4 separate regions of the Homo sapiens genome follow, and regions 1, 2 and 4 are each linked to region 3. Evidence: promoter capture Hi-C in 16 types of primary human blood cells and fetal thymus (Javierre and others, 2016). All regions are on one chromosome and are shown on one strand. Each heading gives the region's core, a stretch centred on a gene start or on the middle of the fragment in contact. The rest is flanking DNA. Distances are from core to core; before and after follow the strand shown.

Region 1 (2,700 bases), core at 31-2,530, 100 kb after region 3:
CTCCCACAACAAGTGGGAGTGATGGGAGCTACAATTCAAGATGAGATATGGGTGGGAACACAGCCAAACCATACCAGAAACAGTACCTTTTTTTTTTTTTTTTTTTTTTTAAGATCTATAAATATAAAGGCAGTGTAGAAACCTCAGGGAGCCTGGACTTGGCACAGCCTAGAACTAACACAGTTCAGATTCGCTTTGCCTGGAGGACTGGAAGGATGGGCCTGCCTGGGGTATGAGAGACCAGAGCTTTCTGGCAAAAATCCTCAGCCCAAGGTTAGGCACAGTGCAAATTTGGTCCCAGGACATCAGGCCAGTTTGAGAGGCCCAAAGAGCTATGCCTGAGTCCCAGAGGCCAGTGGATTAGTTCAAGAACATTAAACCAAGGTGTGTGTTGCAAGAAATTTCGCTAAGGTGTTTGTTGCAAAAGATACATTAAAATCTTAAGTCCTGGGGCCTGTGAAGTGGCCTTCTTTGGAAATAGGATTTTTGCAGATGACATCGAGATGTGAGCTAGGATGAGGTCATCAGGGTGGGTCCTAATCCAACATGACTGATGTCCTTACTGAAGAACATCTGAAGAGGAGGAGAGACACACGGGGTCATGGCTGTGTGAAGACGGAGGTGGAGACCGGGCTGACGCACCAGCAATGCCAGAAGAGGGAAGAGGGGAGGGAAGCTTCCCAGGAGGGAGCACGGCCCTGCCGATACCGTGATGTCAGGCTTCTGGGATCCAGAACTGTAAGGGAACAAATTTCTGTTGTTTAAAGGCACCCAGTTTGTGATGCTTTACAACACACCACAAATGATGGATGACGAATACAGCATCCATCATAACACAGAAGCCCAGTGACCCAGCAGCCGCGGTGGCGCGCTCTGGCAATTTCCAAAGAGACCGCTGCTAGCGTCCCAGCAGTTATATCCACACTGAGTTAGACACTAATGGGGTTTGGGACACAAGACCCTGAAATCTGGCACCTTGCATATTCCCGCAGTTCACTGCCATCAGGTGACACCCGCTCTGTGTACTCACCCTTTTCCACCACTGTCCGCTCTCCATCAAGCTTAGCCTAAAGATACACAGGCCTCCCTGTGCCTTTTGGTCTTCATATCTAAAGGTGCCTGTGTCATGTAAAAATTACATACAATGAAATAAATTCGCCTGCTTTTCTCTTGTTTATCTGTCTTTTATGATAGGTGTCTCAGCCATAAACCTAGCAATGGGTGAGGAAATAACTTTTTCTTCCCTTACAGAACTGGATTCAGCACCGCAAAACTGAAACCGCCTCCAGAAAAGAGCCTCTTGCGAGAACGCAGAGGCTTGCCTTTCTCTCCTGTCGCTGAGAGTCCCTGGCTGGCTTGGGGACCCCATGGTGCTGCTCGCTCTTGCCTGTTGCTGGTGGGGGCTTCCTGCTCCTGACCTCATACTACCTCTGCGGCAGAGGGCCTGAGACAGAGGGGATCCCTGCCCATCCCGCCAGCCCTCTTCTCAGGAAGCTTCTGGAATCTCCACCCAAAAACTTCACTGACATTCTGCTGACCAGAGCGTGGTCATATGGCCACCCCATCTCACAAGGGGGCTGGAAAAATGCATTTTCTTCAGCTGCGCACCTTATACCCCACAGCAGTACCTACGGGCCTGGTAGTGAGGAAGAGGATGGGTAACGGAAGTTAGGTCAGCAGCTAGCAGTGTTGGCCACCAGGGGAGAGTCACAGCCACTTTCTGGGCCTGGTGGTGACTTCACATTGGTTGCCAGGAGGATGATTTTGAAGATACCGTAAGTGTTAGTAATAGTAACGCTGCTACCGGAGTGCTAGGAATGATGGCAGCTGGGGCTGGAGCTCCTGCTGAGCTGGGGAGAGAGAGCCTGGCTGTGCTTTCTTGTTTCAGTTTGTTTTGCTTTGTTTGTTTTACCTGCAGGCCTGTCGAGCCCTCTTGTAACTAATCTTCCAGTGTCTGCCGCTGAAGGTGTCCAGTAGCTAACTTCAGGACTCTGTCATCCCCTCTTCATTTGGGGGAATTTCCTCTACTTACTTGAAACATTCAGATTTTCCACTGTCAGTTTTGGGTGAATGAACTATGCTTATTACTTTTAATAAAAGTCTTCAAAATCTCATCAGTGCCATGTCTTTTTCTTAGGCCTTGAAAATCATTCTTGGTTTATTTTTGAGAAATATTTAGGCCAGGTGTCGTGGCTCATGCCTGTAATCCCAGCACTTTGCGAGGCTGAGGCAGGAGGATTACTTGAGGCCAGGCTGGGCCACATATCGAGATTCCGTCTCCACAAAAACTAAAAAATTAGCCAGATGTCATGGTGCATACCTGTAGTCCCAGCTACTTGGGAGACTGAGGTGGAAGGATGACTTGAGCCCAGGAGCTTGAGGCTGCAGTGAGCTATGACACTGCCAGTTCACTGCAGTATGGGCAACACAGTGACACCCTGTCTCAAAAAAAACACCAACATTAATTTAAAAAAATTCAAATAGTCATGAAAATCGTTCTTGATTTCAGTTTTAGAGTGCTGCTTATTATTTTGAAAGACTTAATCTTAGTTAAATTGTATGTTCTGTTTCCAAATTTCTCCTTACTTGTAACTTAAAATTGATGTCTCCTTTATATATTGAAATGTCGTTTCTGAGATATTTCAGTCGTGAGATTTTTTTCGGTTTGGTGCTATTCTGGTGTCTAATAATAATCACTTA
Region 2 (2,768 bases), core at 26-2,525, 94 kb before region 3:
CATTCTGTGCATGCAACAAAACACCACACCTACCCCATAAGTGTGTATGAATATGTATCAGTAAAAACATGGAAACAACCCAGATATCCACCAGTGGATTCATGGAGAAACAAAATGTGCTATCCATGCAATGGAATATTATTCAGCCACAAAAATAAACGGAGTGCTGATAAATGCTCCAACATAGGTGAGCCTTGAAACACTACACAGTGAAGGAAGCCAGACACAAAGGCCACATGTGGTGTGATTCATTTACATAAAATGTCCAGGACAGCAAATCCACAGAGACAGAAAGCAGATTGGTGGTTGCCAAGGAGAACATTAGTGGAGAGGGAATAGATAGTGACTGATAATGGGTGTAAAGTGTTTTTTTTGGTGGGGGTGCCAAAAATGTTCAAAAATTAGAATGTGATGATGGTCACACACCCTGTAAACATACTGAAGGTGGTACATTTCAAATGGGTAAATTGTATGGTATGTGAATTATATCTCCATAAAACGATTAACCATTCCCTGAAAAAAGATTAGGTTTCACTGTGAGCAGCAGGAAGCCCAAAGTGACAGCAGCCTTCTGAGGTCTAAGTTTGTAGATCTCTCAGGCGAGCCTCAGGGCAGGCTGGATGGCAGCCCAGCTCCTCTGAGCCCTCCCGGTCCCAAAGGACCTCTAACTCACAGGCCTCATCTTCATGCTTCCAGATGCCAGCATCTGCATTCCGGAAAGCCTGCTGGATGAGGCGACAAAGGAAGGTGAAAGAAAGGGTGTGGAGCAGCTAACTCTAAGAATGGTTCCTGAGAGAGAGAGAGAGAGAGAGAGAGAGAGAGAGAGAGAGAGAGAGAGAGGGAGGGGGAGGGGGAGGGGGAGGGGGAGGGGGAGGGGGAGGGGGAGGGGGAGGGGGAGAGGGAGAGGGAGAGGGAGAGGGAGAGGGAGAGAGAGTCATCTCATGGGGCCACCTTTGTATATGCAGTCAGTCACTGACCGAAACATTGTGTCGTGCATGACTGTATATATCTATATCTATACAGATAGACAGATAGATAGATAGATAGATAGATGCATATACAATGGTGGTCCTATAGGATGACAATACCATATCATATTTTTACTGTACCTTTTCTATGTTTAGATATGTCTAGATACACAAATGCTTATCATTGTGTTACAGTTGCCTACAGTATTCAGCACAGTACCATGCTGCTTAGGTTTGTAGCCTGGGAGCAATAGGCTACACCATAGAGCCTAAGTACACAATGGGCTATACCATCTAGGTTTGTGTAAATGCACTCTCTAATGTCGACACAGTGATGAAATTACCAGAACGTGTTTCCATCATTCAGTGATGCATGAAAGAGAGAGAGTGTGTGTGTGTAGCTAACGCAGTTAGACTGTGTTTAGCTTGCAGAAAGTGAGGCAATTTGGCTGTTATCTGGGCCTGATATTTTCACACCAAATCATACATGCCAGCAGATACATGGCAAGGTCCCGGGCAGCTTGGTCATTTTAAAGGACCTCAGAATTTCTTCCACCGTAACTCCATTTACTCTCAACAGCCTCCCACTCAGATACCTGGTGCTAAGTACTGTCATCAGGTTTCAGTGCCGTTTTGGTCAGAGATGTCCAACAGACAAATCCTGCGTAATCCTTTCCATTTCAGCTCAGACATTATTACCTCCATACAATCCGGACTGCCCTTTATACAGCCTCATACCGGATCGAGGAAGAGACTGAAGTGAAATTGTTCTTGTGTGCGCCTCTCTCCCCCTAGCCTGGAGCACCCCTGAGAGTTGCAATCCTTTTCTTCTTTCTATGCCTGGCCCGGTGCTGGGCACAAATCATTATTTGTAAATGAGTGAATAGGTGGGGACTGGGCTGGAATTTACGAGTTCCCTGTTCAGCGTCCACTACGCATGTGGCCATTCAAAATTCTACATGGGGCCTCGGGTGGCTGGGGTGGCCTTGTTGAACGTGGCCTGTTAACTATATAAATTCACCTCTTTATTTTTTTTTTTTAATTGAGACGGAGTCTCGTTCTGTCGCCCAGCCTGGAGTGCAGCGGCACAATCTCAGCTCACTGCGACCTCCTCCTCCCGGGTTCAAGTGATTCTCCTGCCTCAGCCTCCTGAGTAGCTGGGATTACAGGCGCGTGCCACCACACCTGGCTAATTTTTGTATTGTTTAGTAGAGATGGGATTTCACCATGTTGGCCAGGCTGGTCTTGAACTCCTGACCTCAGGTGATCCGCCCTCCTTGGCCTCCCAAAGTGCTGGGATTACAGGCGTGAACCACCACCCCGGCATAAATTCATCTCTTTTCCTTCTGGAAACTTCACTACGTTGCGGGACAAGTAAGTTCTGTGTGTTTGCAATTGTTACAAAATGCCAGCAGAGGGCAGTGCTTGTACAGCTAGACCTGCAGGCCATGCAGAACGCGCTCAGCCCTGCAGCTCTGGGAGCCCTCTCAGGACCCGTGCACTGCGATGGCCAGAGCCCCCATGGGTCACCGGTCAGACAGGGTCCTGCCACTGGCTCCTCATACAGCCCAGGGCAAGCGATTGCCAACCTGAAGTTCACAACAGGACCAGGAGTCCGTGGGCTCCATCAGTATTAAGAAAAGCTGATGAAGGCCAGGCGCTGTAGCTCACATCTGTAATCCCAGCACTTTGGGAGGCCAAGGCAGGCAGGTCACTTGAGGTCAGGAGTTCGAGACCAGCCTGGCTACCATGCTGAAACCCTATCTCTAATAAAAATACAAAAAAAGCCGGGCATAGTGG
Region 3 (2,702 bases), core at 164-2,663:
TCTCCACTTTCCAGGCACAGAACTGTGGGCCTCCTGCCGCCACTGACGTGCCTCTTCCCACACCCATCCAGAGATTCTAAAACCTGGAATAAAACATATTGAGGAGGAGGTTTCAGTATCTTAGGACCTCACCTGTCAAGCCGATTAACAGCCTGAGCCCACCGGCAGAGACAGGCTGGCAGGGATGGAGGGAAAGTGCCTGTGAGCTGGGAGGCTTGTTTCAGAGCTGTATTGGGGTGGCTTGGGAGGTGCTGGTAGAGATGACAGGGCCCAAACCTGTCACCCCAACCCAAGCTCTGGTGAGAAGTGTTTCCCACCACCTGCCAGGTTTCCTTGACGCTCCCATGTATCCACAGCGCAGTTCTCTGAGGCCACCAACAGTCAACAAGGGGAGGCGTTGCTGCTGCCTCGGAGACTGAGGCGGCTGGGGGAGGGCCATGCTGTCCTGCTGTGACTGTTGGCACAGGGCACATTTGTGTTTACCCACAGTTGAATGTGCTCTGGAGCTAACCTGGGGCCGTAACCATCACACACCTGGTTTCCATCAGAAAAGTGTATCTGATGGAAAGTACTTTGTGGAGATCTAAGCAGCTGATGATTATCCTTAAGTAATGCAGGGACTGCACACATGAAATGTTGACTTTTTGATCCGTCACTTTGCAATTGTTCAATTATTTATTAAACAAACATTTGAATATTGTAGGATGTCTTCATGTGTCTACGACTAGAATGTAAATTGACAGTGAAGATTTATCTCATTAATTCTGAATCTCTGCTACAGTGATAAATATATTGCTTTGCTCATAAGAATTATTAAAGGGACTTGATGTCTAATATTTGCCATGTAATCAGCATTATATAGCTGAAACTGAACTATTTTGCCTGTTCATAGATACTTAGGTTTTGAATTTGAAAGTGACTCCTCAAGGGGTGGCATGAACACTATGTAAGATTCACTGAGGGTCATTTCTCCCCTCTCAGCTCCAGCCCGCTTTTCTCTGTGAAGCAGGATGTGTCCGGGGCCGCAGAGCTGCATCTACTGGCGGTGCCTTTCCCGCCGTCTCGAAGGCACGGAGAGGCTACAGGGGATTTTCTCTGAAACGTGCAGGGCCTCCACCTGTGACTCCGGAAGGCTGCCGGCTCCCCCAGGGGAATGCTCCTGGCTTTCGACGGACTACATTAACCTCGGACCACCGGAGCGCCAGCTGGGGGAGCCCCGGGATGCCTGGCGCGCGCTCCGCCCTCCGCTGTCCTGGCACTTTGCTCCCATTCAACAGTCGGTCGTGACACCAGCCGGGCACAGCCCGGGGCCTGGCAGGGCCGCGTCCTTAGCGAGCGCGCTGGGCTCCTCCTCCTGCCGGCCCGGCCCGCGTCTCAGCTGTGGGGACCCGGGGGCGCCGCGACTCGCCCACAGTCGGACGGCGGGAGGCGGTTCCTGCAGGGTCCAGTCCCGGGAGCACCCCCAGGAGGAGGGGAGGGTGGGAGCGCCTCTCTTTGAGTCCCCGGGTTTGGTCGCTGGGATGTGAGGAAGCCGGAGAGGCCGCGGCTGGACGCAGGTGGGTGTGGAGGGGCCGCCCGGACTGCGGGGACCCGCTCCGCGCACAGTGGCTGAGCGCCCGCCTCTCTTTCCAGGGGCTGAGGATCCGGCGGCTCGGCTGCACTATGCCCTTCCCGCCCATGCCGCCGCCGCCCGCCCCCGCCCCGGGGGCCCAAGCCGCGCGCCAGTTACCCCGGAGGCCCTGCGCCGCGGGGGACAAGAAGAAGAGGCCCCCACAGCGGCCCGAGGGGCTCCTCTCCAGCTCCTGGCCCTCCGCCACGCTCAAGAGGCCGCCGGCCCGGCGCGGCCCCGGCCTGGACAGGACGCAGCCGCCGGCCCCTCCGGGCGTCTCCCCCCAGGCCTTGCCCAGCCGCGCGCGGGCCCCAGCCACGTGCGCCCCGCCCCGGCCGGCAGGCTCCGGCCACAGCCCAGCGAGGACCACCTATGCGGCGACCTCGGCGGGGACGGGGACCACCGCCGCGGGCACCTCCTCGGGGGCGGGGCCTTGTCCAGACTCCGCTGCGCGCTTCTGCCTGAATCTCACCCCCGAGGCCGTCCTGGTCATCCAGAAGCGTCATCTGGAGAAGCAGCTGCTGGCGCGGCCCCGCAGGCCCTTCCCCTCACCCTCGGCCGAACCCAGGCGCCTACTCGCCCCGTGTCTCCCGGCTAGGGCCGCGGGCCCGCGGAGGGGCGGCCCCGCCAGCGACCCCGACGCACCCCCCACCGCCGGCCAGGGCCGCCGCGCGCCTCCGCCCGGCGCCCAGCTGCTGCACGGCGGCCTGCAGGTTCCCCAGCTCAGCCCGCGGCCCGGGGCCCTGCGGCCGATGCTCAAGGTGTCGCTGCTCAACGAGCGGCACAGGTACGACGACGTGGAGTACGAGGAGGAGCCAGAGGCGGTGGACGAGGGCCTGGTACGCAAGTGCACGGAGTGGCTGCGCGGCGTGGAGTCCGCGGCTGCCGCGCGGGGCCGGGCGGGGGCCCTGGACTCACGGCGGCACCTGAGCACGCTGTGAGCCCAGCGGGCCTGCGGGGACAGGCCAGGCCTGATCCCACCTCACTTCCTGCACGCGCCACTCCGCCTAGGGGCCCTCGGGGGAGACCGCAGGCTCCTCTGGCCGCCAGCGCCCACTTTCGGGACACCAGTGCGCAAGCTGGCCCACGTGGG
Region 4 (2,700 bases), core at 50-2,549, 110 kb before region 3:
GTAGTCTCCTTATACAACCAGGACGCAGAGCTGCGGTTCACCTGGGATGGGAAATGGATCCGTCATAGCGCAGGGAGCAACTAAGTTTACGGATTTTCTCTGCACCCCAATTCTCACTCCAGATTGGTTCCCCGACAGCAGCAAGTCAGCAGCTGTCAGATTGAGAACCGCAGGGCTCCGGGGTGATTTGCCACTGAAAGCTTACGTTGTTCAGTGTCTGTGTCTGCTCCCAGCCCCGCTCGGAGCAGCTAGCAGGCACCTGGTGAACTTCTCTCTTTTCACATTTCCCGGGAACAAGTTCCATTAGGTTCTGAATTCAAGGATGTGTTTATAAATCTAAGCCCAATTTCTTGCCTTTGAGAAAAGCCAGTGGTAAAGAGAGGAAGGGAAGGGCTGTGGCTGATGTTGCCAATGGGACAGGGGAGGAGGGAACTGGGAAGGAAGGCGGACTTCAGAGTCTGTGTGGATCCCGTGGGTTCTTGATGGAACTGGACCAGAGCTGCTCCGATGGGAGGGGAGTCAAGCGAGCAGCCAGGTCTGAGGCGCCTGGCATCTCACTGTGGGTCTTGGAGTTGTTTAAGAGGTCACCCAGGGCCACTGGTCCATTGCAAAGATGCTTCTGCGTGCTGAGACGTGAACGGATGTGCAGCCAGGGGCTGGACTGAGAGGCTGTTTTAGGTTATGCAGGGGTCATCCAGACACTTGAGCAACCTGTGGCCCCTTTAAAAATAACCAAGTTTGGCTGGGTGCGGTGGCTCACGCCTGTAATCCCAGCACTTTGGGAGGCCGAGGCAGGTGGATCACCTGAGGTCAGGAGTTGGAGACCAGCCTGGCCAACATGGTGAAACCCCGTCTCTACTAAAAATACAAAAATTAGCCAGGTGTGGTGGTGTGTGCCCACAGTCCCAGCTACTCAGGAGGCTGAGGCAGGAGAATCGCTTGAACCCGGGAAGTGGAGGTTGCAGTGAGCCGAGATCACGCCACTGCACTCCAGCCTGGTTGAAAGAGCAGGACTCCGTCTCAAAAAATAAAAACTAAAAAAAATGAAAGTAACCAGGTTATAAGCCTCTGTTCATGCCTTACTTAATCAATATTAATATTGATAATATTATGGGGGAGGAAAATGACGTTTTCCTCATCCCTCATAAGTTCTTAGCTGGACCAGACCCCTGTAACAAAAGACAGATTAACAAGAGAAAAAGAAGTTTATTAACACACATCTTCTCATTTATGCATGCGAGATGCCCAGAGAAGGAGTCATCCTCACAGAGGTGGCTTTGAATCCAGCCTACATGGTATCTGCAACAAAGAACAGAGAATTTTTAGAGACCTGGCAAGACAAAGGAAGAGGGTTAGGGTCTCCAGGGGCTGCAGCTTGGGGAGGTGCAGGGCTGGCCTATGGAGGCTGGTCCCAGGTGGGACCACATGCATCCAAAGCTGTCCCTAGGGGAAGCCTTTGTCCTCTCTGGTTGGGGGTAGGTACCTTTTGTCTTAATCCATGTCCTGATTTTAGACAAATGGAGGACACAGAGCTCTCCTGCATCTGCTGCTTCTTATGTATCTTCAGCTCAGCGCCCCTCACGCCTATGCAGCATATTTTGGGGTGGCATATTCTGGTCTCCCACAATATTGATTTTATTGATTGTAGAATGCCCTAGGTTGTGATATTCCTTTGCCATTTACAAAGCACTTTTACCAACTTTTTTTACTTTCACTCTCATCCACCATACAAAGTAGGCAGGGTAAAATCTATTAACCATGTTTCACAGAGTCAGAAAGCACAAGCTCCATGTGTGTAAGTGACTTCTGAAGGTCACCCCGCTGATGGATTAGGAAGTGAGGCTTGCACCATGAGCACCACATTCATTCAGCATGCGCTGGCTGGTCCCCTCCATGGTGCAGGCTCACACATGGTAGCAGCGATACAGAGAAAAGGACAGGCTCCTTGCTCTCATCTCTAAGGAAATTGAGCCGAGCTCTCCCGACTCGATATTTAATGCTAAATCCAGTCATCTGCAGTAATCCATGAGCACCATTGTGGCTTCCTTTGTTGTTATTCAACTGTAACTATATCAGAGGATTGCCCTCTACTGAAGTATGTAATCCTAGGATGCATACAAGTTTTGCTGCTTTAACAGTTCTTCAAAAAAATTAAATGTTATCACGTAGCCCAGAATGGAACTTCTGGGTATATACCCAAAAGAATTGAAGGCAGGGACGCAAAGAGACATGTGTCCACCCATGTTCATAGCAGCACTATTCACAACAGCCAAAAGGTGGAAGCCACGAGAGTGTCCCTCGGTGGATGAATGGGTAAGCAAAACGTGGCATGCACACACAGCGGAACATTGTCCAGCCTGCAGAAGGAAGGAACTTCTGACCCCTGGAGGAAGCTTAGGGTGTTATACTAAGTGAAATGGGCCAGTCACAGAAAGACAAACATTGCATAATTCCACTCCTATGAGGTCCCTGGAGGAGTCAGATTCACACAGACGGACAGTAGAAGGGTAGGTGTTGGGGGCTGGGGGACAGGGAGTTGTTGTTTAATGGGGACAGAGTTTCAGTTTGGGAAGGTGAAATGCTCTGTGGATGGATGGTGGTGATGTTGGCACCACAATGTAAATGGGCTTAATGCTGCTAAACTGTGCACTTAAAAAGGGCTTTGATGGTCAATTTTATGTCATACATATTTTACCGTAA

What was found. Contacts are between HindIII fragments. The CHiCAGO score rates a contact against its expected background, and 5 or more counts as called.
Region 1: a contact is called between a fragment that was not itself captured here and the fragment with the promoter of PRR18 in region 3, in 1 of 17 cell types (neutrophils). The highest score is 5.4, in neutrophils.
Region 2: a fragment that was not itself captured here is called in contact with the fragment with the promoter of PRR18 in region 3 in 15 of 17 cell types (total B cells, naive CD8 T cells, monocytes and 12 more); the score reaches 10.9 in total B cells.
Region 4: a contact is called between a fragment that was not itself captured here and the fragment with the promoter of PRR18 in region 3, in 1 of 17 cell types (neutrophils). The highest score is 6.0, in neutrophils.

What each region holds. Positions count from the first base shown.
Region 1 is chr6:166,204,153-166,206,852 of GRCh38, reverse strand. No RefSeq gene overlaps it. Among named protein-coding and RNA genes, the nearest start is that of LNCDAT, 37 kb to the right of the region's middle. RefSeq lists an enhancer at 261-1,460. The HindIII fragment of the contact is 433 bases long and covers 1,064-1,496 here.
Region 2 is chr6:166,400,610-166,403,377 of GRCh38, reverse strand. No RefSeq gene overlaps it. Among named protein-coding and RNA genes, the nearest start is that of MPC1-DT, 19 kb to the right of the region's middle. The HindIII fragment of the contact is 5,224 bases long and covers 1-2,768 here.
Region 3 is chr6:166,307,103-166,309,804 of GRCh38, reverse strand. PRR18 (proline rich 18) reads left to right here and starts at 1,413. Exons shown (of 1, transcript NM_175922.4): 1 at 1,413-2,702. The coding sequence starts at 1,663. The coding sequence ends at 2,550. It overlaps LOC107986669 (a long non-coding RNA gene), which reads right to left and starts at 2,257. Exons shown (of 3, transcript XR_001744464.2): 1 at 2,082-2,257; 2 at 1-83. RefSeq lists an enhancer at 981-1,260 and a silencer at 1,331-1,930. The HindIII fragment of the contact is 8,012 bases long and covers 1-2,702 here.
Region 4 is chr6:166,420,240-166,422,939 of GRCh38, reverse strand. The region is part of intron 17 of RPS6KA2 (ribosomal protein S6 kinase A2); the gene reads left to right. LOC124901460 (a long non-coding RNA gene) reads right to left here. Exons shown (of 2, transcript XR_007059866.1): 2 at 1,187-1,299. Among named protein-coding and RNA genes, the nearest start is that of MPC1-DT, 38 kb to the right of the region's middle. The HindIII fragment of the contact is 2,193 bases long and covers 203-2,395 here.